Linked DNA regions of Homo sapiens: all the other regions are linked to region 6. The links are contacts of gene promoters, found by promoter capture Hi-C in blood cells and fetal thymus (Javierre and others, 2016). All regions are on one chromosome and are shown on one strand. The core of a region is centred on a gene start or on the middle of the fragment in contact, and the rest is flanking DNA. Distances in the headings are between cores, read along the strand shown.

Region 1 (3,375 bases), core at 850-3,349, 420 kb after region 6:
TAATGCCATTGAATTATATACTTAAAAATGGTTAAGATGGTAAATTTTACATATCCATATTTTACCAAAATAGCAAACTAGACCACACTTACATGCAAATATCGATATAACATTTAAAAGTAGATATCAACTCATTGAATTCAGCAATGGATTGTAATTATAATGTACTACAATTTCAGCCTACTGACAATCATAGAAATGAATATTAAAATGAGAGTGGCAGGCCAGGTGCGGTGGCTCACACCTGTAATCCCAGCACTTGGGGAGGCCGAGGTGGGCGGATCATGAGGTCAAGAGTTCGAGACCAGCCTGACCAACGTGGTGAAACCCCGTCTCTACTAAAAAATAAAAAAATTAGCCAGGTGTGGTGGCGTGTGCCTGTAATCCCAGCTACTTGGGAGGCTGAGGTAGGAGAATCACTTGAACCTGGGAGGTGGAGGTTGTAGTGAGTCAAGATGTCGCTACTGCACTCCAGCCTGGGTGACAGAGGGAGACTCTGTCTCAAAAAAAAAAAAAAAGAGAGAGAGTGGCAAAAATTATGACAAAAGATAATGACATCCAGTATTGGCAAGGATAGGATATGAGAAAATTTCCAGTCATACATAGTTGGTGAGAAGAGAAATTAGTATAGCCTTTCTGGGTGATTGCTGGACAATATTTATCAAAATTCAAAATATTCATACTTTTTTGTCTAAGCAATTCGACCTTTAAAAACCTATCTGAAGGGAAATATTGGACAAATGGATAAATGATATGTACAACAGCATTCATTAAAACATTGTTAACAATAGAGTACAACCAGAAAAAAAAAATAAAGGCACAATTATAGAGTACCAAGTAAATAAATTAATCTGTGCAACAAAATACTATGCAGTTATAAAATTATGGTGTACATCTGTATTGGCTGAATTCGGAAGATACAATACCATTTACAATAGCTCCAAATTTTTTTTTTAAATAAATATTTAGGTGGGGCGCAGTAGCTCACGCCTGTAATCCCAGCACTTTGGGAGGCCGAGGGGGGCAGATCACAGGATCAGCAGATGGAGACCATCCTGGCTAACATGGTGAAACCCCGTCTCTACTAAAAATACAAAAAATTAGCCAGGGGTGGTGGCGGGTGCCTGTAGTCCCAGCTACTCGGGAGGCTGAGGCAGGAGAATGGTGTGAACTCGGGCAGTGGAGCTTGCAGTGAGCCGAGATTGTGCCACTGCACTCCAGCCTGGGTGACAGAGCAAGACTCCATCTCAAAAAAAAAAAAAAATAATAATAATAATAATAAAATAATAAATAAATATTTAGAGATAAATCTAACAAAACGTGCAGGAGCCATATGATGAAAACTATGAAATGCTAATTAGATAAATCACAGAAGACCTAAATAAATGGAGAGAAATACTGTGTTCATTGTTTGGAAGACCCAGTATAGTTAAGATGTCAATTCTCAGCCAGGCACAGTGGCTCACATCTGTAATCCCGGCACTTTGGGAGGCCAAGGGGGGCAGGTCACGAGGCCAGGAGATCAAGACCATCCTGGCTAACATGATGAAACCCTGTCTCTACTAAAAATGGAAAAAATTAGCTGGGTGTGGTGGCATGCGCCTGTAGTCCCAGCTACTCGGGAGGCTGAGGCAGGAGAATCGTTTGAACCCAGGAGGCGGAGGTTGCAGTGAGCTGAGATCATGCCACTGTACTCTAGCCTGGTGACAGAGAGAGACTCCGTCTGAAAAAAAAAAAAAAAAGTCAATTCTCTCCAAAATCATTTACATATTTAAGGTAATTCCAATAAAAATACCAGCAGGATTTTTTTTTGTAGATACATATAAGTCAATTCTAAAGTTTATAGGGAAAGGCAGAGGAATTGGATTAGCCAAACAGTTTTGAAAATGAATAATGCCTGAGAACTCACACTCCTTTATTTTTATTTTTTTTTGAAACGGAGTCTTGCTCTGTCGCCAGGCTGGAGTGCGATGCGTGATCTTGGCTCACTGCAACCTCCGCCTCCTGGGTTCAAGCAATTCTCCTGCTTCAGCCTCCCAGGTAGCTGGGACTACAGGCACACGCCACCATGCCCAGGTAATTTTTGTATTTTTAGTAGAGACAGGGTTTCACTATGTTGGCCAGGCTGGTCTTGAACTCCTGACCTCGTTATCCTCCCGCCTCGGTCTCCCAAAGTGCTGGGATTACAGGTGTGAGCCACCACGCTCAGCTTCGCACTCCTTATTTTAAGAATTACTATAAAGTTATTAGTGAAGGGCTAGACACATAAATCAATGGAACAGAACGAAGAGTTCGGAAGCAGGCCCACACAGATATGGCTAATTGATTTTTGATAAAGTTGTAAAGGCAAGTCAATGGAGAAAGGAGTCTTTTCAACAAATGGTGATGGAACAATTGATCATCGATATGCAAAACAAGAAGCAAAACCTTGACGTAAATTCCAGACCTTACACAAAAATAAACTAAAAGTGGACATAGATTTGAATGTAAAATTCAAAACAATAAACTTTTAGAAGAAAGCATAGGAAAAAATCCTTGTAACCTCATGTGAAGGAAGAAGTTTTTAGATACAATACCAAAGCATGATCCATAAGAGGAAAAACATGACAAATTAGACTTCATCAAAATTTAAAACTTTGGTTTTATGACAGATACCTTTAACAAAATGAAAAAACGGGCCGGGCACAGTGGCTCACACCTGTAATCCCAACATTTGGGAGGCCAAGGTGGGTGGATCACCTGAGGTCAGGAGTTCAAGACTAGCCTGGCCAATATAGTGAAACCCCATTTCTACTAAAAATACAAACATTAGTTGGCTGTGGTGGCTCATGCCTGTAATCCCAGTTACTCAGGAGGCTGAGGCAGGAGAATCACTTGAACCCGGGCAGCAGAGGTTGTAGTGAGCTGAGATCGTGCCACTGGACTCTAGCCTGGGTGACAGAGCGAGACTCCATCTCAGAAACAAAACAAAACAAAACAAAACAAAACAAAACAACAATAAAATAAAATAAAATAATAAAATAAAATGAAGAAGCAAAGTATAGACCTAGAGAAAATATTTGCAAATCACATCTGACAAAGAAAAAAAAAAGAAAACTAGGATAAATAAATAACTCTCAAAATTCAACAGTAAGAAAACAAATAATACTCCCCAAATGGGCAAAAGATCTAAATAAATACTTTACTAAAAAAGATATGTGGATGGCAAATAAACACATTAAAAAAATGCTCAATGCTATCAGCAGTTTGGGAAAGGCAGATGAAAACCATGAGATCTCACTATATGCCTATTAGAATGACTAAGATTTTAAAATGAGCAATAGAAAGTGCTGGAGAGCACACGGAGGAACTGAAATTCTCTCTTTTTAAAAATTA
Region 2 (3,791 bases), core at 129-2,628, 350 kb after region 6:
AAGGTCCCACCTCTCAATACTGTCACATAGAGGATTAAATTTCAACATGAGTTTTGGAGGGGACAAATATTCAAACCACAGCAACACCTCACCAGTCACGTTTCTGTCGTGCACCGCAGGCTCCCAGGATTGGAAAGAACTTCAGTCCAGTGGAGCCTCATGTCTCCAAGCCATTTCACAGCCAGGCTAGCAAAAAGATAAAGGTTTCATGAACATGGCTGTGGAAAGCCAGTGGATGCTGAGCATGCCTTCTGCTTTGCTCCACATCACAAACATCACCAAGTGGCAGGGCTTCTGGTCTCAGTGACAGTCAGCAATTGTAGAAGGAAGCTAGCAGATGAGGAGTTTTTGCTGTATTGTCTATAATTCTTTTTTTTTTTCTTTGAGAAGGAGTCTCGCTCTGTCGCCCAGGCTGCCAGGCTGGAGTGCAGTGGCGCGATCTCAGCTCACTGCAAGCTCCGCCTCCCGGGTTCACGCCATTCTCCTGCCTCAGCCTCCTGAGTAGCTGGGACTACAGGCACCCGCCACCACGCCTGGTTAATTGTGTGTGTGTGTGTGTGTGTGTGTATTTTTAGTAGAGACAGGGTTTCACTGTGTTAGCCAGGATGCTCTCCATCTCCTGACCTCATGATCCGCCGGCCTTGGCCTCCCAAAGTGCTGGGATTGCAGGCGTGAGCCACCGCACCCGGCCTGTATTGTCTATAATTCTTATGATCTGAGCTTTGGTTTCAGGTTTTGGATGGATGGCTTCATGGGCTCCCGGGCTCTGCCATTTCTGCAGAATTTCCTCCTCATCACATGGGTTCAAAATTACAAAATCATCCACGATCCTTGATACTCCTTCTTCGTTGATCCCCGCGGCCCCATTATCCAATAAACAACCAAGGGCTGTCTTGTTGATTCCACTTTTGAAATTCCAATACACATACTATGTTGTCATTTGATTCTCATACCTTTTGGGATGCAGCCTCTTCTTGCCTGGAATGTTGTGGTGGTCTGTCCAAAACAAATGTCTCAGCACCCATAATCTCCACCAACTCAGACTCATTGTTCACTTCGCAACAGGCAAGAGTTAAAAGCTTTCAGTCCTCTCCATTGGCTAGTCAAATCTTCTCTTCTAGAGGCCCCATAGTCTTCAGAGGAACAACCGTGGATTTCTAGCAGCCAGATATGGGTTCAAACCATGGCTCTACCATCTAATAGTCGCAACCATGGGCAACTAAGTCAGTTGACCTTTCTGAGCCTTGGTTTCCCCTACTGTAAATTGAGATTAGTATGAGGATTATGAGTATTGCTGTGTGCAGGTGTGAGGCATAAAGAGCAGAAGCAAATTTCAACCAGTGTGAGTTCTGTTTCCCTTAGATTGAGGCTTAGGAAGTTCACAATCTGTTCCAACACTTCTTTCCAACTTTATTTTCCATGAATCTCCTGTGAAATCTACACGCGTATCTGGTGTGTTATCTCTATTGTGCCCCTATCCCTGATCATTGCTCCCCTGCTAGGAAGAGCCTCTTCACTTGCCTGAGTTGGTTGAATGTAGCAGTTGGGAGGACGGACTCTGTGGTCAGATAGATCTAGTTTCGAATTTTAACCTTTCTGAACCTTAGTCAAGTCACCTGTACAATGAGGCCATACTAATATCTTATTTCATAAATTTGATGGTCTGACTTAATGAGATAAGCTTTGTCCACCTCTTATTAGCCCGACGCACAAGATTCCTGCTAGTCTGGGTGTGGGAGCCCAGATTTGTCCCTGGCATCAACTCTATTGGGTTGAAAAGATCATCCAGAAAACTACAAATGGCATTTTTCAAAGGGTCTTCTAGGGAACACTAGTTCTGAAAGATCGTGATTAGTGTTACATGCGAAGAAGGCTGTGACACCACATAAGGGGAATTATAGGTCAAAGAGAGAGAAACAAGTTTGTTGACTGCAGGCTTTTGAGAGTCTTTAATTGCTAACAGGTATTGCAAGTTTCTAAAAGGTGACAATAATTAACATCATTTTCCAAAGTTGTTTGACCACAGACAGAATCCTTATGTAATGCTCTCCCCAACCCTCCACACCACTAGGATTGCATGTTCTGCAAAACTCAGTTGGGAAATAGTGGTCTAAGTAAACCTGAGCATGATGGTTAATGGCTCATTCAATATTTACATTCCTCTTAGCTGGAACCAAGACATGTCAGAGGGTCAAACTCAATATCTTTAACAGCTACAAGATCAGGAGCTGAGAATTGTATTTACTTTTGATTCTGTAAAGCTTAACTGACCTACTGGTAAAGTAGGTAATAGAGTGAAAGTCACAGCTTGAAGTCTAAGACTTTACGACCCAGTCCTTCCTCCATACGCCGGCTTATTTCATAAACTCCATGAGGGTCTTTTCAGAAGGTCCCTGCGCTCAGCTGTCCTGTCTGCCCAGAGAGAAATGCTCACTATTTAAACTTCTCACTTGACATTTACGTTGTCCTGTCCCATTCTGTTTGTGGACATGGTTTTGTGGTTCGGCCTTTCCTTCTAAATTGTCAGTATTGTTCCCAGGCAGGCTTTGTCATAGAAACAAAGTGCAGTTCAAGGTTTCACATCTGCACAAATAGGCAGGGTGGGTAGCATCGGCCTCATATCCAAGGGAGAGAGTCCGTTGAGTGTTACTCCGATCGGACGGGGGGGGTAGTTCACATGTGCATCCCCAAACAATGATTGCGGCCCTGTGAACAAAATGTGCAGAATGGCATAAAGCCATTGGGAGGTGACATTAATTACCCCGGGAAGATGTGGGAGGCATCTGGTGACGTTATGCAGGAGGGAGTGGTAGACGCGTTCCTAAAGACTCACCCAGCACCCTGAAGGATCACAGCCTTGCTCAGTACATACTTATGAAGGAAGGGTGACCTGAAGAACGCTTGAGCCCAGGGCCTTCACTCTGAACTTACTTCCCTCTATCACAGCCTCTGACTCTGCAACACCTCACCCCAGGGTGCCGCCAGCATAAAGACAGAAGCCTGCAGGGCTCAACAAGGAGAAGGGGCAAAGTGAAGAGAATTCGGGAAGCTCGTGACAGCAAAATCACAGGTCATGGAGTAAAGGGAAGACGAAATTAGAAAGGAGGTTTCCTAATTTGGGACATTGGGAAGATATCTGGCAGAAAATCTGCCTCAAGCAGGTTCATCTGTTTAATTAACCTGAGGCCAGTGACTGTTTTGTTGTTGTTGTTGTTTTATCCATGAAATGTGACCAGCATGAAAAATCTGATATGCATATTTCAGAGGACAGCCCCTGTGACATTCGTCAGCTTATTAAAGGAAACAATATGCCCTAAAACGTGAAAAGCCACTTCCTTGAAACCAAGTCGAGGGGGAATGGTAAACCAAAGTTAGCAGAAATAGAAAAGTAGGGTGTTGGTCAGGAAAGACTTCCTATAGAGATGTGCCTGTCAGAAAGATTACTATTCCCATCCCGCATGCTGGAGACCCATGTGGCAAACAGTGTGGCAGGGACAGACTTTGTTTAAACGAAGGAATTTGCACTGAAGATCATCTTCCGCATTTTTATAAACTTTGAAAGCAGTCAGTGGTCTCAGCATTTTCCTACAAAGGCCATATCCCCACGCGTACATTTGAATTCTCAAAAGCTCTTTCTCCAAAAGCATTGCTAATAAAAAATGTAAAAAAAAAGAATTGTCAAAGGGGCCTCTAGAGATCATTTGACTTGGTTCAATATCTTTAGGCTTGTGAGTATGTAAAACTATCCAAGACACAAAGTTATCAAGTCTTTTTGTTTTGTTCTGTTTTTT
Region 3 (3,857 bases), core at 400-2,899, 310 kb before region 6:
ACACCACGAGGGAGGTTCCATGGTGTAATGGTTAGCACTCTGGACTCTGAATCCAGCGATCCGAGTTCAAATCTCGGTGGAACCTTGAAGCTTTTCTTTTAATATCAGCATGTTGAATATTGTTAATTGATTTTCACAGAGGGGATACTCCTATGACCCAAGATAATACGACAAAAAAAAAAAGTAAACTAGGACACTACCAATTATTTGTGCTTTTCCTACCGGATAATTGAGTCCTATAACACAGTGTTAAGAGAACGTACAATAAATTATTTAAATATGTTGGAAGTTGAGCTAACATTTGAAAACATGTTAAAATAGAGATGTTATGAAGAAACGAAATAATAGAGATGTTATGAAGAAACGAAATATTGCTTCAGCAGTTACCATCAGGTCTTAGCTTCTGGGATGGATGCAGGCCTATGATCTCTCTGGAAGACCAAACACGGAAGATGATGGTGAAACCATTACCAGGGGAATTCGTAAAATTACTTTCTGCATGTAAATAGGTGTAACCTCACAGAACTGTTAACAGAACTGTAGCAGGTGCGTAATCCACCAGAAAAACTCCAGCCTGGCAGCGGTGGGATTCGAACCCACGCCTCCGAAGAGACTGGAGCCTAAATCCAGCGCCTTAGACCGCTCGGCCACGCTACCTGCACGAAAACTTACTGTCCCCGTTGTCCTCCTAAGAGACTAGAAGTAAGGAATGGGGCAAATCTTAAGAGTGCCAAATTGATTCGTCTCCTTTTCCACATCTTTTAGACTGGAAATGAAGAACCATCGAGACTGTGGACCGCATAGCAGCAGATGGCAGAACAGATAAACGAGAAGAGACAAAAACACACAGAAATTTACAACAAAACTAGTTTATTTGGGTGGGACTATATCTGGGAGTGGGGAGCGCCTGAGCCGGAAACACCCCCCAAGCGGGCAGCCGGAGCTCTGCACTCGCTCGCTCAGCCATTTTCGGTTGCTCTCCCTCCCTGTTTTTTCGACCCATGTGCGCCCTCTCTCTCACCTGGCTAACATGCTTTGCGCCCGCTACCTCTACCTGGCTTGGCCTCTGAGATCCAAACCGCGCCCTCCTGGCATGTCCCGCCCAAGTCCCTTAGCCCCGCTCCCCAACCCTGCCCCATTCCCACTCTAGTACCCGTAAGCTACAAGACGCCGCCGTTCGTCGGGTGGCTCTGTGGCGCAATGGATAGCGCATTGGACTTCTAGTGACGAATAGAGCAATTCAAAGGTTGTGGGTTCGAATCCCACCAGAGTCGATTTTATTTCAATTTTTCCTTTTTATCCGTTTTTTTCTTAAAGGCCCCCATCCCTTCTCCCCCTACCCTATCTCTCTCTTTCCACCTGGTTTCAATTTCGATCTCAGTTCCCGCTCTGCTCTCTTCTTTACTTACCTGTCTGCCCCGGGGCTTGGGCCATGGAGAGCAGGACTGAGGGTGGGAGACAGAAGGGAAGGGAAAGTGGGCGTGGACGTCGAGATAAAGGCAGGCCCCTGGCTCGGGGACACACGGGGATTTAATAACCACTTTATTCCATGCACTAGGGACTCGGGAAGGGACTGGGACTGGGCTGAGGGGCAGAGAGAGTACAATCCTAGACGCAAGGGAGAAGTTGGGGCAGGGAAAAGGGACAGGAACCAGGGAAATATATATTTATATAGATACTCTAATATAGACCACATCTCACCCGCGCGCTGAGCCCGCGCGCCCCACTGCCCTCCCCAACACCTGCTCGCCCGGACGCCCGGGTCCCTCTGCTGCCCTCGGGCTGGAGTCTCTACCCCACCCCTAGACCCCGCCCCCACCACCCCCCAAGGCTCAGGGCCAAGGTCTCCAGAAAGCGGGCGGCGGGGGCAGCGGGGCCTTGGGCGCCCCGTCTTGTCTGTGAGGCGGCGGTGGCGGCGGCAGCAGTCCGGTGAGGGGCGCCGGCGCGCCAGAATCCCCGGCGCGCGGGGAGCAGAGGGATGGGGACCATGCGCAGCGCGGGCTAGGGTGGCCCTGGTGCACTGGGGGGCGCTGGTGCAGCGCAGGGCCAAGGGCCGGTGCGGCGGGGTCCAGGGATGGGCGCGGCGCTGGAGGCCTCGGATCTACCGGCTTGGGCCGGGGCGGTTTGGGGCGCAGATAGCCGTGCAGCGCGGAGAAGAGCTGGGCGCGGGCGGCCGGGCTGGCGTCGTGCGCGAAGGCCGCCAAGCGAAGCAGGCACTCGCGGAAACCGGACAAGTAGCAGCTGGCGAGCGCCTCGGCGTCCTGGACTGGGGACCGGGGAACCCCTGGAGCCGCGGCGGCTGGTGCGGCCGGCGGGAGCACAGGTGGGCAGGGCAGGGGCCCGGCAGGGGTGAGGGAAGGGGCGGGGCGCAGAGATACCAAGGCCGGACAGGCGCACAGAGACAGGAAGCCAGATGGACGGAAAGAGGGAGAAAATGAGGGAGACACAGAGACAGACACGCGCGGGTGTTATTAACCTCGCCTCGGAGCAGAACCGGCCACTCCCCAAGCCCACCATCCACCGCAGGGCCCGCCCACTCTGCCCCGGCCGGAGCCTCCTGGCGTCCCCCCTCCCTCCCTCCGCTGCCCCACCCCCGCGCTGTACCCGGGGGCTCCACCCGGCTTCGCTCCCTCAAGTAGCCCACGGCGAACTCCAATATCTCCGCTTTCTCCAGCTTCGGGTTCCGGAGGTTCTACAGACGGGAGGGGAGGGCGCAGAGACAGAAAGGGGTGGGGAGAAAGGGGGAAAGTGGCAGGGGGAAGAAGGGAGGGACGGATGCGGGAGCTGGTGGTGCCCCCGATCGCATTTGCGCACTGCCCACAGAACGCGCGACCAAATGCGGAGTGGAGATGACCAAGGAAAGTCCTGGCCCACCCTGAGACGAAACTGTCCAATCCTAGGGGTTGGAACCAATGCCCAACGCGTGAGGAGGAGATTTGAAACCGCAACCCAGGGAATGAAATTAACCACCCGACATAACAGAGGCTGGCTCATCAGAGGCTGGCTGTGGGGGAGGGGGAACCGGACACTTAGAGACCCAAAGGGTGAAACTGACCGACCCCGGGAGCGAAATTTACAGAACCAGGCGTGAAACTTACAGACCCGAGGGGTGGCGAAGAAGATCGCGTTCTGAGAGCGAGTGGGGGTCTGGGATGGAATTCCAAAGGCGGGACTCGGGTGAGGATGCCTTGGGGCCAGGGTTGCCAACCAAGCTTGTGTCCCCACCCCAGTGGGAAGCCCTGGGACGCGGAAACGGGAAGCTTGGGGACCTAGGGCTAGCGGAGGGACTGACCTGGTCCCGGGTCCGCTCCAGCAGCAGCAGCCTCAGCTCTTCCAGGCTGCGGTTGATGCGGTCCCGGCGCCGCTTCTCCACAAGCGGCTTGAGCATCTGCGACCAGCGAGAAAAGGAGAGCGGGCCGACCAGACCGAGACTCAGTGCGGCCGCCCCGGCGTCGGATCCCGCCGCTGGGAGAGCCCGGCTTCCACCCCGGCCACAAGACCCCAGATTGCCTAGGGCCGGCCCCATTCGATCCCTCTCCGCTCCCCCTCCCAATGCCCCTAGATCAGTTTCTGTAGCTCGCCTCCCCGGATCTTCGCATTCTCCTCTCTCAGTCTCGTCCTCCCTCCTCCCCTCTCTGTGTCTCTCCTCCTCTTTTCTCTCTACGTCTCCGTCTGGTGCAGTTTCTCTTTGTCTCAGTGGAGAACTTTGGGGACTCTCTGCGCGCACGCACGTGCGCCGCACGGTGCCGGGCTCAGACCTGGCGGCCCTGAGTATAGAAAGGGAGATACCTAGCGCGACCGCGCCGCCTCTTTTCCCTCAAAACCCTCCAGGCCTTCACCTTCTCCACGGTTCTCCT
Region 4 (3,606 bases), core at 636-3,135, 480 kb after region 6:
CACACCTGTAATCACAGCTACTCGGGAGGCTGAGGCATGAGAATGGCTTGAACCCGGGAGGTGGAGGTTGCGGTGAGCCAAGATCATGCCAGCCTGGGTGACAGAGCAAGACTCTGTCTCAAAAAAAAAAAAAAAAGAAAATCTAGACTCTCAGTTGCTGGGGATTGTGAGCCCCACCACATCTATCTACACCAGCTGCCCCGCACAGCCCTGCATCCTCCAGAGAAAAGGCCAAGGCTCACAGGAGTGTGTGCCAGAGGGGATACCGAGCAACACTCTCTCGGACTCCACCGGTGATGACCGTGGTGGCTCACGGGGCCCAGGCGTCTCTAGCCTGGAGCATGTCCTGAACCGTGTGATCTGGGTTTTAAGACCCCTCTGCCCAGCCCCTGCTGCGATGGCCAAGCTGGTTATGCCATGAAGCAGGAGTGAGTCATCCTGCTCACTCATTACGTGTCCCACACTGTAATGGATGCAAACACAAGATGCAAATGAATGTTCTCAGCCAACACCACTTCTGCACACTCCTGTCCTTAAGGGGGCAGAACACAGTGCCATAGGACTGCTGCTAGCACACCGCACCCAATGCCTGACTGCCCATGGCTTCTCTTTCTCATTCTGGGGCCGCCTGTGACTTTCCCATCTCCTGGCCTCGGTGTGCCCCTTCCCCCCAACCCCACCCTGCTCAAGGGACACATCAAAGCCTTCTCCACGGAAGGGCAGGATATCCTCAGGCACTGGTGGAATTCTGGTGTGCCAGCCTCCCCGGCATTCCAAGGCTTTCTCGAGCTCGCCCCAAGTTCTTCTCAGAGGCAGGACTTGCCTGAGCCACTAGCCCCTGGGAGCCTGAGAGATGGGGAGAGGGAACCCAGCCAGGGGACCCTCAGCTGAGCTGCCCTGGGGGTTAACCCAGCACACCGGGCTCACCACCCACCCCTTTGACACGCTCATTTCCGTCTGAGTCAGTCATCAGCTGTTTCTTATGACTTGTCAGCAGAACCTCACGGCTTTGGGGCAGAGGTGAGGGGGGAAGACAGTGGCACCCGCTCTCCCAGCATGACGCCTTTTTTCAAAAGCTGGGCAAGCAGGGCCTGGCTTCCCTGGCATCACCCTCCCAAGCCCCCTCCCTATCTTGTTGAGAGGAGCTCCCATTGTAAAATTCCAGCTGCTGCCGGGAATGCCGCCCCCCGCCCCCCCGCCCCCGCCACCAATTCCCCTGCCAGTGGTGAGGTGGTGTTGAAATATCCAACAACAGGGCCTTCCCCCATCTCCAAGTTCCTCTTCTGAGCCAGCAAAGAGGACTCATAGTCCTTGCTGGGGACCCTGCATGGGGCAGAAAGGCCTGGAGTCGGGGTGGGTTGGTGGGACCCCAGAGGGCACAGAGAGAGCCAGTCCTGCTTCCACTTTTTCTTCCCATGTTGACAGGATGCCATGATGTGGAGGGCTCATCTTCCCTCTGGTGCAGGGCTGGTCAGAGGAGGTGTAGGGTCTGCCTGGGTCCAGCTTCCCAAGGCAGCCCACGATGGGGCAGGGAGGAGAGCCTCTTGGGGGTTTCTAAATAGTAATGAAAGGAGGAGTTAGAGGGCCTGCATCTCATATGGAGGGGGCCTCCAGGTTCTGGCTGGCTCTCCACACTGCTTTCCTGGTGTTCTGGAATATTCTAGGCCCATGCAGTCCTGGGCTGACCCAGCCTGCTTCCGTCCTGGATGACTCCTCCCTCTCCTGCTTCTTACCTTCCGAGGCTTGACTCTCCCTTCTCTGCCCCAGTCCCTTCCTCATGCCTTCATAAGGCAGAATCTCCACCGTGACCTAAGTAAAAGAATTCTTCCCAACACAGGAAGGATACACCAGAAATTAAGGAGATTGGTTAGTTACTATGGGAGGTGGAGGTGAGAAAAGGGTGGATAGGATCAAGGAATGAAACTGGAGATGAGGGAGGAACAGCACTTCTCTGAGGATTATCTGTGTGTATAGCTTTAACGCTTAGAACCATGGCGATATTTTACATACCCAAAATTAAATAAATAATCGAAATCAACCAGAATATGGGGGCAGGGGACCAAAAGTGGGAGACAAGCAATAACAAATTAACCTAACTGTATAATCAATTACTAACATAACCACACTGACGGGGATAGGGAATGAAAGCACTAACTTCAGTAACTTTGTAAAATGGTACTTTGACTGGATACTGGTCAAAGTCAAAAATAAAAACTATAGACAAATACTGTTTTCCAGTTATTAAATATGTTTCTCATATGAATGTGAGTTAAAAATTCTAAAAGTTCGGGGCCGGGCATGGTGACTCATGCCTGTAATCCCAGCACTTTGGGAGGCCAACGCGGGTGGATCACCTGAGTTCAGGAGTTCAAGACCGGCCTGACCAATATGGTGAAACCCTGTCTCTATTAAAAATACAAAAATTAGCCAGGTGTGGTGGTGTGCGCCTGTAGTCCCAGCTACTCGGGTGGCTGAGACAGAAGAATTGCTTGTACCCAGGAGGCGGAGGTTGCAGTGAGCTGAGATTGTGCCACTGCACTCCAGCCTAGGTGACACAGCAAGACTCCATGTCAAAAAAAGAAAAAAAAAGAAAGAAATCTGAAAGTTCTTTATGTGTACACTAGCATTAGACAAATAAGTGAATAAACCATAGATAATAAGAGCTAAAGAAAGATGTGACAAATAAAGAAGGGGGAAGGCTGGAATGAACCTTGTGGAGTTGGACCAGACTTGAAAGAATCAGTATGAACTCATGGTTTTTAATGTATATACAGATAAATACATATAGAAAAATTTTAAAAAGATGTATGTGCTTGGATTAATACACATACATACATTTTCTAGTTCTGTCTACAGAGAAAGCCCAGAGGCAATGACATCCCAGTAGCAACAAGCACACCTAGTGCCCAGATCTTGGTTTCTAAATACCATTTTCCAATAAAAGGAAACAGAGCTCCTTGGAGACATGGCTGATCCTAGGATTGAAACAGGAAATATACAAAATAAACCCAGCACATCTTGTAGTGCCAGAAAATAAGTCAATATTTGAAAAACCATGGGGAGTGTCAAAAGGACATAGGGTCTAACCTGAAGGAGCTTCCAATGGCCACAGCTAGGACAATTTGAATGAACAAAGAAAGTGATGAATTATAACTCATAGAATAAAATAAATACCCACAAGTCTATAGATAATTATAGATAATTAAATGTTATAGATAATTGAATAAAAACATAAATGGAGGAGAAATGACAGGTCTTCTTTACAAAAGAATTCCAATTAATAATGTGAGAGGAATGAGAGAAATAGAAAATTGTCACTAGGCAAACACCATGGTAATAATTGTAGATCCACTGATGAATGCTAAAAATCTGTTAGTGAAAATCTGTGGACAAATAGGATATTTGTATAGCCTCAAAGTATTTCCCCCCAAATAATTACCACTTATAAAGGGGAAAACAAGAACTTCTCAGTGGAGGAACCCAGCAGACAGCACATTAACCATATGATCAAGGTTAACATGACCAGCAATAAGCTATACATATCAGCATCATGTATCCCCTGCTGTAATGCACTGAGAAGGGAAGGACACGTCACTTCTTTGTGTT
Region 5 (3,505 bases), core at 901-3,400, 460 kb after region 6:
CTCTCTTCAGAGACTGGGAGGCGGAGCATCGCAGGAGGCAGAACCTGGGCCCAGGAGGCTGCCCCGTCTTGTGCCGCAGGGCTACTCCTCGGTCCCTGCCGCTGCCCCCTCTCCCGGTCCGGGGTGCCTTCCCGCTATGCCAGGCACCTCTCAGCCCATCCACTTTGCCTTAGCTCCAGCCAGGCAGTGGGTTTCGAGTTTCCCCACCTGCACCTCCCCGTCTCTGCCTGGAGTCCGGGGATCGGGAAGGACTGTGGTCTGGCCTGGCGTCCTCCGTGCTCTGAGGCATCTGCATCCCAGGCTCCTCTCCCAGCCCGCATCCCCTTTCTCCCTGGCCCTTCCCCCTCTCTGTCTCCTCTGACTTCCAAATGCTGAGAAGAAACACACCAAAGGTTTTCCTTTTGTTTCTGCAGCTTGACTCTGTTGTGCACAGTAGTCGCTTTACAGTGTGCATTCAGTTCTGTTTCCACCATGACAAGGAGATGAAACAGAAAGCGGGAGTTCACTCCCTCACAGAGCAGGGGCTGGGGACCCAGCGGGGTGGGTCGCCTTCTTGTCATAGCTTGGAAATAGGCCCAGGGCAGTCCCCATCGAGAGCAGGGCCACTCTGAACTGGGACTGAGCTGGGAACCTGCAGGACGTCCCCTCAGAAGTGCAAGTCTCGGGGGCGGGGTAGGGCGGGGGTTGGGGTTTAAAGACAGCTATAAATAGAAAGGCTGTGAGGTTCCTTTAGTAAAAGGCAGAAAATTACCACATAATGCTCTTCTAACTTGGGACCTAATTGCTTTGATTTTTGGCCTTTTGCGTGATGTTTACTTTATGTAATCATCGCATATTTAGAAGTTAACGTTTGGTCCATTTTGCCAGATAAGTCCTTGACACAGTGGCTATTACATCAGGACTTGGGACACCATCTGGTGGCCACTCACGTGCATTACAGAGAAGAGATCCTCACCCGCTCTCCAACCACCTCTACATAATACCATAGCTACCATAGCGGAGACAAACAGATATTCCCCATCTCCCTGACCATAAAACACATAGATACGCAAAATCTTCTCTTGACCTTATTTCTCTTTTCTTTTACTGTTTAATGCTTTTAACATTAACCCACACCCCGCTGACCCCATTTCTTCACCGCCACTTCTGCCTCTGTTGACCAAGGACATCCAGGCGGTCATACTCCAGGAAGCAGTAGACTCTGACGTCGCTCTCCCTCCACATCAGCTTTCTTCCAACACGCCCAGCCATTGGCTTCCAACCCCTCTGCCCTCCTGACCCTGCTCTCCTGAAGCTTGGCAACATTTTCCCCGTCCCCATACCCAACGGCCCAACCTCATCCTCACGCTGCTTGAACTTTTGTTTTGGAGTGCTTGGTACTGTTGACAACCTTCTCCTTGAAGCTCCTTCGTCTCCTCTTGTCTCTAGGATGAGGAGCAGTCTCTAACATCTATATTCGTGTGCCTTAGTCTCATTTTAGGATTGTGCTACAGTTAGAATCAGAAGCTGCTTCGTATGAGCTACGTGGACTCCACGCGACTGTTGCTCTATGTGTCCCGTTGCTTTAATGGGGGATATTTAGGAGGATACCTGTGCCTCTTGGCACACTCTGACCCAGAGAGAGTGATTTTCAGAGTTGTTTGGCTGGTGCTGAATACCCAAGGTACCAACAGTTCCCAAGCAGAACCTATGATCATCAGATAAACTCCCGCCCTCACCCCCAAAACACCATCAACCCCCTTCCTTGGCCTCTCTTGGTAATGGACCTCCCTGCTTAGCATGGGGTGTGGGGTTTTGGGGTAATTAACTGGTGGGCTGGGGCCTGAGCTGGGAACACATTAGAAAAGACTGTGCAATGTGGAGGAGGCTTTGATAATATAAGCTTTTGTACAGACTGACTCCTTTGAGCCTGGCTTAGAGATTGTACTGCCGAGTCCCCATTTGCTGGTATGTGCTGTGAGGTTGGAAATATCTCCCAGCACCCTCCATGGGCTTGGTTTTCACAATGTTACCTGGTGATGCCAGGGAGGCCATGAATGCTAAGTGGGGTGTGCAATGTCAGTTTCGAGACCACCCTTAACTCCACCCTCCACTCCCCAAACAGGGAGGCTGCACTGGGGAGCCTCAGATCCACAGACACCTCTCTCCCTTTGATCTTAGATCACACCCTTTCTTGGTCACCTTAGCAGATGGAAACAACTTTCTGAGTTTAGCTTCTTAGATCAAGATTGGTGCAAGGGCTAAACAAAAATCTTGCCTGGGTTGTTCCTACGTCAGGCTCTAGCAAGTAAGAAATTGAGAGAAGTCACCCCATACAGGCGAAGAACGGGGTGAGTGGGCAGAACACACTCATAGTGAAGTTCAAACTCCTGGCCCAGGTGTCCAAGGCCCTTCGCCATTAAGCCTTGTTCACCCATCAAAGCTTCCACTCTTTTTCAAAGTTGCAAATAGATGGGGATCCTGCACAGAACAGCAGACTGTGAAGATCCAGGACACAGGAAAATCACTACATCTGCCATCAAGCAAGCACTGGTATTAATGACACACGGATAGACAGGTCCATGCTGAGGGTGATGTGGGTACTTGAGCCTGGGGGAGGCAGGGAGCAACCACATCTGACTCAGTTTCCTCCTACAAGGGGAACACCAAGATTCCACGGAATCAACAGGGTGGAAGCAGAGCCCGGCCCCAACGGCATTGCAATCTCCAAATGAGACTAGATCAGGTTTGGTTCTCCAGCAACTATGATTAATATCAACTCATGGTGGACAGTTTGACCTACCTCATACCCTGAAGCAAACACCAGGCACACCACTCCCCACAGCAGGGTTTCTCTTACACTTCCCTCCTCACTGGGGGTCCCATGTATAGCGCCTTCCTGCTCCCCATCCCCAGGGTCCTGGACTCCAGAGAGGCTGGAGGAATTGGGGACTCATGGCTGTGGGCCTCAGCAGGGCCTGGGCAGGAAGGTGAAGCACGGATTTCAGGTGAATAAACAAAGGAGAAGACATAACAAGGGAGGCTCGGAATCTCTGGCCACCGGGAGTCCAGGAGCAGAGAGGGGGAAGGTGAGAAGGAATGTGGCTAGAAAGCCAAGAGGAAAATACTGGGGGGAAGGAACCCACTGGGCAGGCCTTCATGCAGGCAGAGGAGATGTGAGTTCTTGGAATGAAAGGCCAGTGCCACCACAAGACATATGCTGCTCTGAACAGGTGCAGTGACCCCACGGAAACGCCTGTGGGATGAGGTCTCCAGCTTTGCAGAGCCACCGGGCTTGTGGGGGCGAACTGAGATGAGACCTTTCATAACACCCTTTCACCACCCTGGTGAGAGTCACCCTAACAGGACCAATCCAGGCCTTATGGGCTACTCTTACAAGTAAGTCATATGTGGCAGAGACTTCTAGGCATCTACTCAATATCCATTCCTCGTTTTTTTATGAGTGGGACACTGGGCATTGTACCCAGTTGATGAGTCAATTTCTCAACCTCCCTTGCAGAATGTG
Region 6 (3,878 bases), core at 503-3,002:
CATTGCGTGCCGCATGGAGGCTGGTGCCTGTAATCCCAGGACTTTGTGGGGGGCTGAGGTGGGAAGATTGCCTGAAGTCAGGAGTTCTTTTTTGTTTTGTTTTGTTTGTTTTTAGACGGAGTCTCACTCTGTCGCCCAGGTTAGAGTGCAGTGGTGCTCACTGCAACCTCCGCCTCCCGGGTTCGAGCGATTCTCCTGCCTCAGCCTCCGGAGTAGCTAGGATTACAGGTGCCCACCATCATGCCTGGCTAATTTTTGTACTTTTAGTAGAGACAGGGTTTCACCATGTTGGCCAGGCTGGTCTCGAAGTCCTGGCCTCAGGTGATTTGCCCGCCTCGGCTTCCCAAAGTGCTGCAGCGCCTGGCCGAAGTCAGGAGTTCTTGACCAGCCTGGGCAACACAGTAGACCCCATCTCCTAAAGGAAAGGATTACCTTGTACATTATACAGCAAAAGTTCTTAAAATTGTTTTTAAAATGTATCTCTTCCTTTAAGTTTCCACTCCCTATGTAAGTTGCCTATCCCTCTTTCCCTCCTTTTTGGGCTAGTATCGTCTCCAGCTTGCTTCCAAGTCCGCTAGGGAATACACACGCGCGCACACACACATACACGTGTGTGTTTACGTACTAAAAATATATAAACATTAATAATGCAAGATGGGGCCGGGCGCTGTGTCTCACGCCTGTAATCCCAGCACTTTGGGAGGCCGAGGCGGGCGGATCACGAGGTCAGGAGTTCGAGACCAGCCTGGCCAACATGGTGAAACCCCGTCTCTACTAAAAATACAAAAATTAGTCGGGCGTGGTGGCAGGCGCCTGTAATCCCAGCTACTAGGGAGGCTGAGGCAGGAGAATTGCTTAAACCTGGGAGGCGGAGGTTGCAGTGAGCCGAGATCGCGCCACTGCACTCCAGCCTGGGCAACAAGAGCGAAACTCCGTCTCAAAAACAAACAAACAAACAAACAAACAAAAACCAAGATGGATTGTAAGAGGTATATATATACACATAGGACTCCATTTCTTGGGGGACCTGGAGGGGAGAAAGTCACACCCATACACACACGTACACGCATGTATACAAAAATGAATATATGCTCAGATATATACAATATATAAATGGGCAAATATAAAATCCCCTTTGTGCCAACGAATCCATTCATTCATTCATCAAATATTTGAGCGTCCACTTTGCCTAGAACCAAGTTATCTGTTGGGATGAGCAAGGCATAAGAGGTTCTAGCTCTCATAGAACTTAGAATTCTACTGGAGGAAGATGAGAACAAATACAAAATGTAAACAGTGGAAGTTCTGTAAAAACAACACAGAGCTTTGTGAGAGTGATGCTTAGAATGCTCCTGATGTTCCATTGGGTGTTCGAGCAGGGGGAATGGACTCGGAGGTGAACTATGAGCCGAGATTCATTTTATAAACGGGAACACAGACACATGGACACTTGAAGGGCCTTGGTGGCCAGAAAACTGAAGGCAGGTTCCCATCCGTCTTGGCACCACTCTCCCGAATAGCAGTTTCAGGGAACTGCACAAGCCAAAACCAGCCGGTCGCAGAGTCCAGGAGCGCCTGCGCAAGAGGACGCCTGCGCAAGAGGACGCCGTCAGCTTGGCGTCAGCGCGCCGGGCTCTGGCCCGCCCCCTGTGACACCAGCCCCGCCCCACCCCGCCCCGCATACCCGTGCGCTGCCGCGCATGCTCCGAGCCCCGCCCCCGTGCGTCACAGAATGGCCTCGGACACCCAGGCAGTCCCTGACGTGTCGGGGAGGAGCCGGGCGCGGAGGTACGCTGAGTGGAGCTCGGGGCTGCGTAGGGGAGCTGAGCCGAGCGGCTGGGCGGGCCTGGCCGGGCCGGCGGAGGGGAGACGTCGGTTGAGCGGCGGCGAACATGCGCTTTTGACACATTGGAGGTGAGCCTGCAGCGCGGGGCCGCTCCCTAAGGGGCTGCGCTGGGCCGGCGGCGCCGAGGCCTGCCCTTGGGGAGCCTTCCCGGCCCGGGGCCGTGTCTGAGGCTCCGCCGGGGCGGGCCGGGCCGGGTTCCGGGGCGGCCAGCCTGGGGGCAACTGTTCCAACCGCTCTAACTGTCCCCTCCCTTCCCTGGTCCGATGTGTGGCCCCCCAGGGGCGCCTGCAAGGGAACGATTCCGGTGGCCTCCGGAAGATGTGCCCCGTTCCGGGTAGGGTGAGGGCTGGCGGTGACGGAGGCCGGGACGTGGCACCGTGGGCTGGGGCGCTGGCGGCGCAAGGAGTGGCCCAGTCGGAGGTGGCAGCGGCGCGCCCAGCCCGCCTCCTCCTACCCCCTCTTCGAAATTCCTTCATTTGCGAGGGTGGCTTGGAGCGGGGTTGCATTTTGATCTCTCAGTGCCTCTCTCCCATGGGGGGCGAGAGCGCGAGCAGCCCACGTTGGGCTCGGATTGGCATTCTCCTGACTCCCGCCCGGAACTGCTAATCATCCTCCCCCTGGAGTTCGGCAAAGTGTCACCAACGGGCTCGGGTTACTTGTGCTCGACTCTTTTCTTGCTGTAAGCCATGAGATGACCCTTTAAGTTTTGCAAAGGAGGTGAGAGTTCTGTCACCACTGATTATTACCTTCTATTTACGTAGCACCTTTACACGTTTCAGAGCACTCTTCTTCCTATCTTTTTCTAACCGCATCACCTTGTGGTTGCAACTGATTATGTTATCGCCATTTCGATGGGTAAATGGAGCTGGGATGGGGGTAATTATTTATACTTAGGTTCAACCAACTGGTGAGTGGTTTAGCTTGGATCATAATTTACATTTCTAGGCTCGGAGTTCTGGTTTCTTTTCGTGGGATTTTTATACCCTTCTCAGCTACAAAACAAGGCAGAAAATGTGACTTGCCAAAGATATGCCAGAAGCTGGTAGATTACTTACTCAATTATTTTTGAGAAAACTCACCTAGGATAAAAACGGCTGCTCAGTCATGAGAAAAATCTTCCTGTGAAGCTTGTTCAGGAGTTGCTGGTTAATTGCTTTGCTAAATCGTGAAGTTGATGGGCACAGTGCAGCGTTAAGTCATGGGCTGAAGAGAAGTAAAGGGAAACCAAGTGAAGTATTTCTTCTGAATTATTATTAAAATTATTGTTATTTAAAATTAGAGTGCGTGAGAAACAAAACCTTTGGCCAGCCCTGGTTAGAGGTTGACTTGATCCAGATAGAAGTTGCTAAATCTTCTGAAGCTGTAGTTCTTTTGATTTTTTTAAATTAAATAAATTGAAGTTGGATAAAGAGCTTAAAATAAGTAGGAACCTTAGTAAAACTTAGATCTTGCTTTCATGACATCTGCAAAACAACTTATTTTTGTTTTCATTTTAAACCATGCTGGGATAAATTTGGTTACTAAAGCTTAAAATTACTTCTGACGTAAGTTTCTGAGCACTCCATAAAGTAAAAAAGAAGTCTGATAGAATCAAAGAGAGACCGTGTTTATGATCAACTTTGAAGAGTTAAAAATTCTGTAAATGTCACCTTTGAGAGTAGTAGAATTTCAGTAAAAAGGCATATATTGCCAACAGTGAGTTCTGAAAGAACTCTTCTAACGTCAGTCCATTTTAGAACTGTTAACCAGAAACAATATCATTGAAAATAGATTTTCTTACCATTGTACAAAGAATAATTTCCTTGTAAATAAAAGGCATTTTGGACAGGCTGTTTTAAACTCAAATGAGTTGATTGTTGCTAGATTTCTGAAGGTCATACACAGTATGATAATGCTTTACGTAAAAATTGTCATGCTTTTGAGACTGTGTCCGTATTGAGATCTGGTATTAAAGAAAGATGGGGTGGGGGCGGGCAGAGAATAATAATTTTTTTTTTCTTTGATGGAGTCTCCCTCTGTTGCCCAGGCTGGA
Region 7 (3,780 bases), core at 1,038-3,537, 440 kb after region 6:
GTTGGTTTTGCATGGTGTGATTCTTTCCATCCTTTTGCTTTCAACCTTTCTGTGATGTTATATTTAAAGTGTGTCCCTTGTGAGCAGTTTATAAGTTTTTTGTTTTGTTTTGTTTTGTTTTTGAGATGGAGTCTCGCTCTGTCACCCAGGCTGGAGTGCAGTGGTGCGATCTCGGCTCACTGCAAGCTCCGCCTCCCGGGTTCAGGCCATTCTCCTGCCTCAGCCTCCTGAGTAGCTGGGACTACAGGTGCCCGCCACCGCACCCGGCTAATTTTTTGTATTTTTAGTAGAAACGGGGTTTCACCGTGTTACCCAGGATGGTCTCGATCTCCTGAACTCGTAATCTGCCTGCCTCGGCCTCCCAAAGTGCTGGGATTACAGGTGTGAGCCACTGCGCCCGACCGCTGCAGTTTATAAGTTTTTTTTAAAAAAGTATTATCAGACAATTCTGGGTGTGTGATTCCAGGTTAGTAGGTTTGTTTTTTCCCCTCATACTTTAAAGATATCATTTCATCATCTCTGGCTTCCATTGTTTCTATTGAAAGAGAGAGTTCTCAGTTTAATTGTTGCTACTTTGAAGATAAAGTGTATTATTTTCCTCTGTCTTTAGTATTTTCTTATTACCTTTTTTTCTTTAGAAGTTTGACAGTAAGGGGTGTGTGTGTGTGTGTGTATGTGTGTGTGTGTGTTTAAGAAAAAACTGAACTCCAGATTGTATTGGGATTTTACCAGTTTTTGGATTAATGTTTCAGGATACAAGCCAGTGTCTACTGCTTATTTTTCAGGTTTACTCCATCTCTTTTTGTTTCTCAGTCTTTCCTTATTTTTTGTGACAGTAAGAGAGTACTGGTCAGGTTATCTGGTCCCATAGTCTGGGTTTATATGATCTTTTTTACTCTTGATTAGACTGGAGTTATGGAAAGAACATCAAAGGTAAAGTGCACTTCTCATGTGATTTTGTTTTTTTCTTGTGTGGAGATTCCTGTGTCAAAATTCCTGTGCAAAATTTGCTGGGTTTATTAAGTCTGTGGGTTGATGTGCTTCATCAGTGTTAGCCAATTATTGGCAGAAGGAATATTGTTCTTGTTCCAGGTTCCATTCCTAGGAGGCATCGCGTGTCTCTGCTTGCCTCTCATGCTGGTCCAATGTGTCTGAAAGACCAACGAAGCAGATCTGCACCCATCCTGCAGCTTGGAGCCAAGCCACTCTGAGCCCAGCCTAGATCAGGTGGTCCCTAGATGTCCTCCAGATGCATGAGCAAGAACAAATGATCGGAGACTTAGTTCCCTGAATTGAAGGTATGCTTCATTGTTTGCAATAGCCAGCTGATGCAGAGCTGGAACAGCTCACAGTTCTTTCTCCCTCCATCCTGAATAGTGTTCTGGCAACCTGGTACTTACCTCCCTCTCCCAAGCCACAGGTGTCCTCTACCATCCCTCCACTTCTTCTTCTCTCTTTCCTTATCACCCAAGTCTAAAGGCAGTCCCAGATCCAAAGGGCCATTATTGAGCTCTCTTCCCCTCCTCTCAGCTGCATGGTAGGTCCAGGATCCACTGTGCCACCCATCCGCAGCAACGGCCTCAGGCCCGTCCCCTCCCTGGAGCTTGGGGTACAGGAAACAGATGGATATATGGGTATATATTTCTCAAGTGAAGTAGCACAGGAAACCCCAAATGCTGAGTCCTTAGGTGTAGGAATTTTTGTTCTGTGGGTCAGTGAGTATGATGAGGCTTAAGCAGAACAGTATTGGGGAAAATTTTCACCCAAATATATTTTCTATAGGGTGGAAAATTACAAAAAGAGAAATAAAACAATCCCCTATGAAGCTTCTTTCTGGTATAAATAAAATGATTTATATAAACTGTCCAACTAGCAGGGTCATGCAGCAAAGTAACTACTGGTCATTAAATATAGGACAAATCAAGTTTTATTTGACAATAATATTAAATTCCACTCATTAGTTCCTGGACATCTGTTGATCACATAATAAGACAACCTGCCCATACAGCAAAAACATATTGAAGATACATGGCCCGCCACTCTTCTGGAGCTTAGAGCAAGAGCAGACATTAAGACAGGGGAGAGACGGCCAGGCAAGGTAGAAGCTGGCTCTGTCCACGTCTCTCAAGTCATGAGTACTCTGGGCTGGAATTTCACGTAAGGCCTTTTGGGCATAATGAATTAGGAGGCGGGGAAGAGGGACTTTGTGCAGGATACAGTTCATGCTTCCGTGGCTACTTTCTCCACATCAGTCCAGATCCTCGTCTTGACTTCTGCCCTATCTCTCTAGCCCATGTTTGCTTCCAGCTTCTCAAACCACTTCAAGCTGGTTGCTTTGAATTTCAGACTCTCGTGTCCTATCCTAGGCTGACCATTTCCCATGCACCAGTCCCATTTCCCCTGAGTCGGGCACTAAGCTCTGTGAGGCCAGTCACTCCATCCTCTGTTCTGGGATCTTGCCCAGGTGCCAGAAGAGTGCCAGTGAACTTGCGGATATGGAAGATTGTACACGCAGAGTGAGATGGGAGTGGGAGGGCCAATCTGATACAGAAGGGGGTGAAGGGTAGGGCCCCTGAGCAGCCCACCCCTTACCCTGACGAAGGCAATCCTCCTCTGGAATGTCTCTTCCCTCTTCAGTCTGGGTTCTGCCTCAGCCACGAACTGGGAAGGAGTGAGGAACATCCCAACGGCAATGAGAGTATCCCAGTGACTCCAAACAGGAGGAATCAGTGTTCAGAAAGTCAGGCACTAAGCTTTACTGAACACCTACTGGGAGCTCGGCACTGGGCTAGGTGCTTTGCAGACAATTTAACCTTTTAAGGATGTCTTATTTCCACCCCAACTCTCCACTCCATTTTAGTGCTGGAGAAATGAAGGCTTAAAGTTAATTAACTTCCTCTAGTGATTTAGCTAGAACTGAGCTGCTACTAAATTTAACCCTATCCTGTCTTCTAAGAATCTCAGATTCCAAAAGGAGATCAAGAGAGAATCTGTGCCGGGTTCTGAGAGTAGACAGGTCCAGCGTTAGTGCTGTTTTTCTGGAGACTCAGGAAACTTGAGAGAAATTATTGAGGTGTGTGCGTGTGTGTGTGCGCATGTGCGTACATGCATGCCATGTGTGTGTGGTGTTTGCAGGGAGAGGTGGTCTTGAAGTAGAGAAATGTTTCATCCACATTTCAATCACCTGAGCCCCACAGAGGAGGGGACTGAACTCCAGACATACAGGGTCCTCAAGTCTTTGGCAAAGTAAGGGGTAGGCTCAGCCAAGGTTGAGAGAAAAGGCCCAAGCCATCCCCCTGAGCACCAGAGCCTCAGATCTTCCTTCTAGAAAGGATCCTAGACCATGCTAATGGTCAGGGACTTCAGAGGTCAATTTACCCATCCTTCTCCTTCTACTGCCAGGAATCTAAGAGGCTATGGGGTCTGGCCCTTCTCTCTCTGATAGCTGTTGCTTTCCCAGAACCCTGAGGCCCCAGAAACCCTCTACTCCCAGCCCCTGCTCATTGCAGGACCCACAGTGGGACTATGGCTCTGCACAGGGCCATTCAGTTCTCCACAGAGAGGGACTGTCCTGGAGGGGTGGCCGAGGAGGTTGCCCCAGGGCTTCTGTCCAGTCTGGCGCTGGGCCCACACTAGGGCAGAGCTCCACTGAAAGTCATGATGGGCAGGCAGAGAAGGGAGCAGAGATCAGGTGCGGCCTGGGCCGGCAGGTCAGGAGGCGTCTGGGGTGGTGAGGAGAGGTCGCTCTTCTCTGGCTTGTAGCACGGTGAGACCTCACAT

What was found. The method cuts DNA at HindIII sites, captures the fragments that hold promoters and counts their contacts. A CHiCAGO score of 5 or more calls a contact.
Region 1: a fragment that was not itself captured here is called in contact with the fragment with the promoter of NDEL1 in region 6 in 1 of 17 cell types (monocytes); the score reaches 5.2 in monocytes.
Region 2: a contact is called between a fragment that was not itself captured here and the fragment with the promoter of NDEL1 in region 6, in 7 of 17 cell types (monocytes, M2 macrophages, M1 macrophages and 4 more). The highest score is 10.6, in monocytes.
Region 3: a contact is called between a fragment that was not itself captured here and the fragment with the promoter of NDEL1 in region 6, in 4 of 17 cell types (erythroblasts, megakaryocytes, total CD8 T cells and 1 more). The highest score is 12.5, in erythroblasts.
Region 4: a fragment that was not itself captured here is called in contact with the fragment with the promoter of NDEL1 in region 6 in 1 of 17 cell types (monocytes); the score reaches 5.4 in monocytes.
Region 5: a fragment that was not itself captured here is called in contact with the fragment with the promoter of NDEL1 in region 6 in 8 of 17 cell types (naive CD4 T cells, fetal thymus, naive B cells and 5 more); the score reaches 10.4 in naive CD4 T cells.
Region 7: a contact is called between a fragment that was not itself captured here and the fragment with the promoter of NDEL1 in region 6, in 3 of 17 cell types (naive CD8 T cells, naive CD4 T cells and total CD8 T cells). The highest score is 5.7, in naive CD8 T cells.

Annotation. Positions count from the first base shown.
Region 1 is chr17:8,852,236-8,855,610 of GRCh38, forward strand. All of the region lies in intron 1 of PIK3R6 (phosphoinositide-3-kinase regulatory subunit 6), which reads right to left. Among named protein-coding and RNA genes, the nearest start is that of PIK3R6, 14 kb to the right of the region's middle. The HindIII fragment of the contact is 7,845 bases long and covers 1-3,375 here.
Region 2 is chr17:8,787,048-8,790,838 of GRCh38, forward strand. No RefSeq gene overlaps it. Among named protein-coding and RNA genes, the nearest start is that of MFSD6L, 10 kb to the right of the region's middle. The HindIII fragment of the contact is 602 bases long and covers 1,078-1,679 here.
Region 3 is chr17:8,119,739-8,123,595 of GRCh38, forward strand. HES7 (hes family bHLH transcription factor 7) reads right to left here. Exons shown (of 4, transcript NM_001165967.2): 2 at 3,293-3,388; 3 at 2,605-2,692; 4 at 854-2,299. The coding sequence ends at 1,833. TRL-TAG1-1 (tRNA-Leu (anticodon TAG) 1-1) reads right to left here and starts at 657; the gene lies at 576-657. TRR-TCT2-1 (tRNA-Arg (anticodon TCT) 2-1) reads left to right here and starts at 1,187; the gene lies at 1,187-1,274. It overlaps TRQ-CTG1-5 (tRNA-Gln (anticodon CTG) 1-5), which reads left to right and starts at 14; the gene lies at 14-85. RefSeq lists silencers at 43-132, 503-712, 1,653-2,112, 2,333-2,442. The HindIII fragment of the contact is 3,122 bases long and covers 89-3,210 here.
Region 4 is chr17:8,915,294-8,918,899 of GRCh38, forward strand. The region is part of intron 1 of PIK3R5 (phosphoinositide-3-kinase regulatory subunit 5); the gene reads right to left. Among named protein-coding and RNA genes, the nearest start is that of PIK3R5, 49 kb to the right of the region's middle. RefSeq lists silencers at 551-600, 1,031-1,100. The HindIII fragment of the contact is 9,333 bases long and covers 1-3,606 here.
Region 5 is chr17:8,894,209-8,897,713 of GRCh38, forward strand. All of the region lies in intron 5 of PIK3R5 (phosphoinositide-3-kinase regulatory subunit 5), which reads right to left. It overlaps LOC124903920 (a long non-coding RNA gene), which reads left to right and starts at 2,978. Exons shown (of 3, transcript XR_007065611.1): 1 at 2,978-3,068; 2 at 3,213-3,378. RefSeq lists enhancers at 653-722, 733-932. The HindIII fragment of the contact is 540 bases long and covers 1,881-2,420 here.
Region 6 is chr17:8,434,132-8,438,009 of GRCh38, forward strand. NDEL1 (nudE neurodevelopment protein 1 like 1) reads left to right here and starts at 1,753. Exons shown (of 9, transcript NM_030808.5): 1 at 1,753-1,914. RefSeq lists silencers at 1,557-1,726, 1,827-2,026, 2,067-2,306. The HindIII fragment of the contact is 3,991 bases long and covers 1-2,971 here.
Region 7 is chr17:8,877,007-8,880,786 of GRCh38, forward strand. It overlaps PIK3R5 (phosphoinositide-3-kinase regulatory subunit 5), which reads right to left. Exons shown (of 19, transcript NM_001142633.3): 19 at 1,910-3,780. The coding sequence ends at 3,633. LOC124903919 (a long non-coding RNA gene) reads left to right here and starts at 376. Exons shown (of 3, transcript XR_007065610.1): 1 at 376-1,298. The HindIII fragment of the contact is 927 bases long and covers 1,825-2,751 here.